2 separate regions of the Homo sapiens genome follow, and region 2 is linked to region 1. The links are contacts of gene promoters, found by promoter capture Hi-C in blood cells and fetal thymus (Javierre and others, 2016). All regions are on one chromosome and are shown on one strand. The core of a region is centred on a gene start or on the middle of the fragment in contact, and the rest is flanking DNA. Distances in the headings are between cores, read along the strand shown. Region 1 holds the start of C1orf21 (chromosome 1 open reading frame 21). Region 2 overlaps C1orf21 (chromosome 1 open reading frame 21).

Evidence for each region. Contacts are between HindIII fragments. The CHiCAGO score rates a contact against its expected background, and 5 or more counts as called.
Region 2: a fragment that was not itself captured here is called in contact with the fragment with the promoter of C1orf21 in region 1 in 5 of 17 cell types (megakaryocytes, M0 macrophages, endothelial precursors and 2 more); the score reaches 11.1 in megakaryocytes.

Annotation. Positions count from the first base shown.
Region 1 is chr1:184,385,764-184,388,463 of GRCh38, reverse strand. C1orf21 (chromosome 1 open reading frame 21) reads right to left here and starts at 1,435. Exons shown (of 6, transcript NM_030806.4): 1 at 1,096-1,435. It overlaps C1orf21-DT (C1orf21 divergent transcript), which reads left to right and starts at 1,760. Exons shown (of 1, transcript NR_172919.1): 1 at 1,760-2,700. RefSeq lists silencers at 1,400-1,659, 1,690-1,799, 1,890-1,949. The HindIII fragment of the contact is 4,352 bases long and covers 1-2,700 here.
Region 2 is chr1:184,555,673-184,558,372 of GRCh38, reverse strand. All of the region lies in intron 3 of C1orf21 (chromosome 1 open reading frame 21), which reads right to left. Among named protein-coding and RNA genes, the nearest start is that of C1orf21, 170 kb to the right of the region's middle. The HindIII fragment of the contact is 2,286 bases long and covers 120-2,405 here.

The DNA.
Region 1 (2,700 bases), core at 186-2,685:
CACAAGCACTATCTATTTTAAAACAATTTTCCTAACCCACCGGCAATGGAAGAGATCCCATAGGTCACCGACTTCCTATTGAAAACAAATTATTTCTCTCTCAAACTGCTTGCCGTCTCTCAGAATTAATGCGTGTTTATGTGTGCATATTTTTATCTTTGGCCATGCAACTCTTGGAGCAAAGAGGACCACCCCAAATTTTACCGACATGCCTGAGCCATTCAGAGCTTTAGAAGAGAAATGAACGAGTGCTGAGAGCCCTTAAGCCCAGGACTTCTCTCACACAAACAGTAAGTGGAAAGGAAAAAACAAAAACAAAAACAAAAACTAACCCTCCGTAGAGGGAGGGAGCAGGGTGGATGATAGGGAAAGGACATTAACCAGCAGACCAAAGGCAGCCGCGGCGGCGGCACTTCGCGAACTGCCTGCAGAGGAGAGTGAAATCTGTTTCGTGTACAATAACCAAGCACCCTCTGGCTGCCTCGCATGGGCACGAATAATAAATACACCGAGGTGGGCAAACAGATGCAACGAAACGAGCCACCCCAAAAAGGTCAAAACTTCAGAAATCCCGGGGGTCAAACCACCCACACAAACACATCAATCAGTCGGAGCGAGAGAAGGGACTTGGATACTTAGCAAAGGATCCTAAATTGTGTTTTTCCTTTCAAGCTCTGGCTTGCAAAGTACGGTGGCTACATGCAAAGCTAGAGGAGAGCAGGAAGGCTGAGGGCGGCAGGGTGCGGGTGGGAAGGGAGGGGTGTCTAACACCAGCCACCCAGGCCTCGATGTGACGAAAGTCGTCAGCAGCCCCGACCACATCCCAGCCCCTCCGCCCAGGCCGGCAGACGCCCCTCGCGGCTCCCCCACCCCAGCTTCCGTCCCTGGCAGCAACCCCGCCAGCCCCGCACCAGCAGCAGCCCCGGCCCGGGCCCCGCGCAGGCAGCGCCACGACCGCGGCTCCCATCCCTTCCGTGCGGCAGACACCCCGCAGGCCTCCCTCCCTGCCCACCCGGGGATGCCCGGGTAGCCGAGCCGGGGCGGGCTGCACCGCCAGCTCCCCCCGCCCCAGAGCAGGCAATGGCTCACACTTACCTTGGGCGTTCGCGGGGGGGCTGAAGGTGGCAAGCCTCCCGCCCCCCGCCCCTGTCCTCCTCGTCTTTTTTCTTCCTCCCTCCTCCTCTTCTTCCTCCTCCTCCCCACAGTGTGTCCGGGGCTCCCCCTCCTCCCCGCCGCTTGGAGTAAGAACCCAAAACCCCGAAGCCGGGCCCGCGTGCAAGCGTGCGGGAGGCGGCGGCGCGCGGCCAGCTCTCCAGTAACTGAGCGCGGCGCGCAGCTCCCAACTAAAGTGTGAAAGAAGCAGCGGCCGCGGCGGCCGCGGCACGGAACGTCCCCCCGGGAGTGGGCAGGGAGCGAGCGGGAGCTTGCGAGGAGCGAGCGAGGGAGGGGAGCTCCTCGCTCAGTCACTCACTCGAGGGGCGGGGGCAGCAGACACTCCCCCACCGCCGGCCCCTCCCCGAGCCTAGCTCCCGCGCGCGCCTGGCTCTCCTCCCCGGGGCGGGGCCTGCGGAGGCCGCCGGGGCGCAGCGCGCTGGGGAGCGGGTTGGGGGCTGCTAGGGCTGCGGGGCGGGAAGGAGGCGGCAGTGTGTGTGTGTGTGTGTGTGTGTGTGTGTGGGCAGGTGTGTGTGTGTGTGTACGTGTGTGCGCGCGCGCCCTGCAGCGGCCGGCCAGCCGGAGGGAAGACCCCGGCGGGAAGACTGCGTCCCGTCCGGCCTTCCCGGGCCTGTCACTTGGGCGGTGGCGTGGGAGCGGCGAGGCTGCTCGGGGGGCAGCCGGGTGGGCCCAGCTCTAGGGGAGATTCGGGTCAGCCCCTGAGCCCAGCCTCCCGGCTGTGCCTGCTGGAAGCAGACGGAGGGAAGGCCGGGCGTCTTTGGCCCACCGCGCGGCCGCTCCCCTCCCGGGCCAGGCTGAACGGGCGGGCGCAGCCCAGAGGCCCGGGCTCTGCCACCGATCCGCCTCCATACTGACCCGAGCTGCGGCGCCTGCAAGATTAATGAAGCATCCGCGATTCGGTAGAGGCGGCACGGGGAGGAAAGACACAAGATCGTGCTGCCCCCCTCTCCCCACCCTTCTCAGCCTCCTAGGACCTAAAGGCGTAGGCTGCGTCTGCTGGGCGCGTCCGGAGTGGTCCAGAGAGATCGCCATCCACCACTGCATCCGTCCAGTTCTTTGTGGACCCTCACAGAAGCTCAATCAATTTCCCACCCTCTGGAAAAGGGTATTTTTCTCTTCCCTGGCATATTGGGTGTTTCTTGTGTGCACCTAATTGATCTTTTTCCATTGATAGCCTTTGGATGTCTTTTGTGCGGCTTCCCCGCGCTTCACTGCTCCCTCATTGCCTTAGACACGCGAGGAATGTCAGGCCCCCAGAGTGAGAACACCCAAGAAAACAATAGGGGCAAAAGATCCTCCCTGGGCCTCGCGGATTATGCACAAACCAGATCATTTCCCACATTCGGCCAGGGTGAAGATGGAAAATGGAAAAGAACGCCATCAGAGTGGTGACACTGACGAGAAAAGCCAATTCATAATTTAGTTTAATGAAATGAGTTAGTAATCAACCACTAATGTCTAGGAAATTGGCCTTTTTTGAAAACTGGTTTTCCCTTTCTCCACCCCTTTTTTTTTCAAATTAAAAGA
Region 2 (2,700 bases), core at 13-2,512, 170 kb before region 1:
CAAGATCAAATGTTCTGAAAGCATTAGCAGTCATTACACAAATCAGGGCCATAGAAATCATGAATAATTTACTGATGAACATTAAGATTTTATATTCTGTGACATACATGGTAGAAGCTTATTGGTGAGTTTTGAAGGAGATGTGAAGAGGCTGCTGGTAGGAAAGGGAAACAGAAAGCTAAGGTGACTTCTACTGTACTGGCTGCTAATGAATTAATAAGAAGTGGTGAGTAAGAGGAGACAGAAAATCAGCTGGAGAAACTGAGCCTGTAGAGAGCCACCCTTTGCTCTTACCATGTTGAAAACCAAAACGGTAAAGCAGGATATAAATGAGACTTTGCATACAGACATGTGCCTGAATTCATACAAAAGACAGGGGTTTATCACAATGAAACCTGTTAAGGGCAACTGCATATGCCAGTCAAGTTCCACAGGAATTCCCCACTTCACATCTGCAGAGCTGTGCCCAAATCACAGTGATTTTATCTAGAATGAATGGCTCCATCAGCTACATTATCTGGTTGTACTGCCAACGAGTTGTTGGTGGTATTTTATGTTAAAACAAAATAACTGAAAATAACTAATATATAACCAAAGGTCATCAAAGTCAATCTAAGTACTTCCTAAATGGAAACTGAAACTTGAAGGGAATGAGGTTTTAAATTGAGCTTCTCACACAATTAGCAATTGCAAAAATATGGAACCAGCCCAAATGCCCATCAATCAACAAGTGGATAAAGAAAATGTGGTATGTATATACCATGGAATACTATTCAGCCATAAAAAGGAATGAAATAATGGCATTCACATCAACCTGGATGGAACTGGAGACCATTATTCTAAGTGAAGTAACTCAAGAATACAAAACCAAACATTGTACGTTCTCACTCATAAGTGGGAGCTAAGCTATGAGGATGCAAAGGCATGGGAATGATACAATGGACTTTGGGGATTCAGAGGAAAGGGTGGGAGTGGGGCGAGGAATAAAAGACTACACAATGGGTACAGTGTACACTGCTCGGGTGATGGGTGCACCAAAATCTCAGAAATCACCACTAAAGAACTTATCCATGTAAGTTAACACCACCTGTTCCCACAAAACCTATTGAATTAAAAAAAAGAAAAAAACACACATACACACAAATTGAGCTTCTCAGGCTAACTAAACACTACAAGAACAATAATGGCACAGTTCATGACCCCCACATTGACATTAATGAGCGTCAGGAGGCTAAGACATATACGTGGAAAATTCCATCTGATAGTGCAAAGGTGGGAGCAGAGAGCAGCTCACACACATGCAAACGAATCAGCAATAATTCACGAGTTGACAGAATGTTTGTCAATGAGGAGAAACTACATATTGTTTGGAGCAAGATAAAAATGAATATAAAAAAATACCAGCCATTTTGGGAACAGAGTGGGAGGGGAAATGACATAAAGGTTAGTTAAGTCTTGTGATGCTCAGGCCGCTTTTATCAGAGTGATTCAGTTGGACAAAAAATAGAAAAGGGTTTTCTAAGCCAAGACAGTCTTCCATTCATCTTTTCCCTTCTAAAATTATAGTCACCCTCCTTAACAATAAGGATCAGATTTTCAAAAAGTGAGTGTGGCTCATGTGTTTTTCCCTAGGCTTGGTCATATGATACAGATATCACCTTTCCACTCTTTAGAAGTCTGATTCTGTTTCCCCTTCCTTCATTCTTCCTCAACATGTGGAATAGTTCCAAAATAAAACATAATAGCTTTAAGATTTTCTATTTAAAATCATTATTTGACCACATAAATCTGAAAAAATAATGGGCAGTGGTCACAATGGTGGCCAAGACGGTGGAGGGTTCCTTCCTTCCTGTTTTGTGTTTAAATAATCAGGGGACTGTCCTCTGATTCCCATTCTTTGGCTTGGCCTGGCCTCTGGCAGAGGCTCCTGTTCTTCTCCTCTGCCTGGGTCCATGACAGACACAGCCTTCTGGAACAGAACTTCCTTCACCAGCAGAGGCTCTCTGATTCTTTTTGCTCTGGAAGCAAGAATGGGTTTTTGGATATGCTTTGATAATATGCAAGGAGTATACCTGGTATGAAAGCCTGTCAGCAGGCACTGCAGGTTCCTTTTCTAAAACTGGGAGCCTGACTCACATCCTCTGCTACTGACCCACCCCACAGTGTTATCCAACAAGTACCTGCATCAGCTTATTTGGCCAAGAAGCCAAATAAAACCCCATGAGAATCCATACTGTGGTGAACACTGTGGATGCCTCTCAGTGTGTGTATGTGTGTGTGTTGTGTGTGTGTTTGGGGTTGGGGGGGTGGTGAGGGAGAGGAGAGAGCAATTACCTATTAGGACATTTCTTACAGATCGTTCTAGAGTACAGTTCAGGACAAAGAAGAAGGGAAATGGTAAAGCTTTATCTCCCTCTAGCAGGAGTCCCAGCCTGTGGCTACAGTGAGATCTCCTCAGGGATCCCTTTTGTCCAGATGGCCTGGAGGGCCAGTGGGCGGATCCTCGCAGAGGTAATTGGCATAAGGCACCATATTGTGCCAGGGAAATTATTTTTCCTGCCAGAAGCTTGTTTAGCTAAGTCAGAAGAATGCCTCTGTGTTGGAGGGGAGCCTTCCTCACTCGGAACTTCTGATTTAGTTACGCCTCCCACCCCACCTCCAGTCCTCCTCCCCCAACTCCTTGCCCCGCTCCTGAGAGTA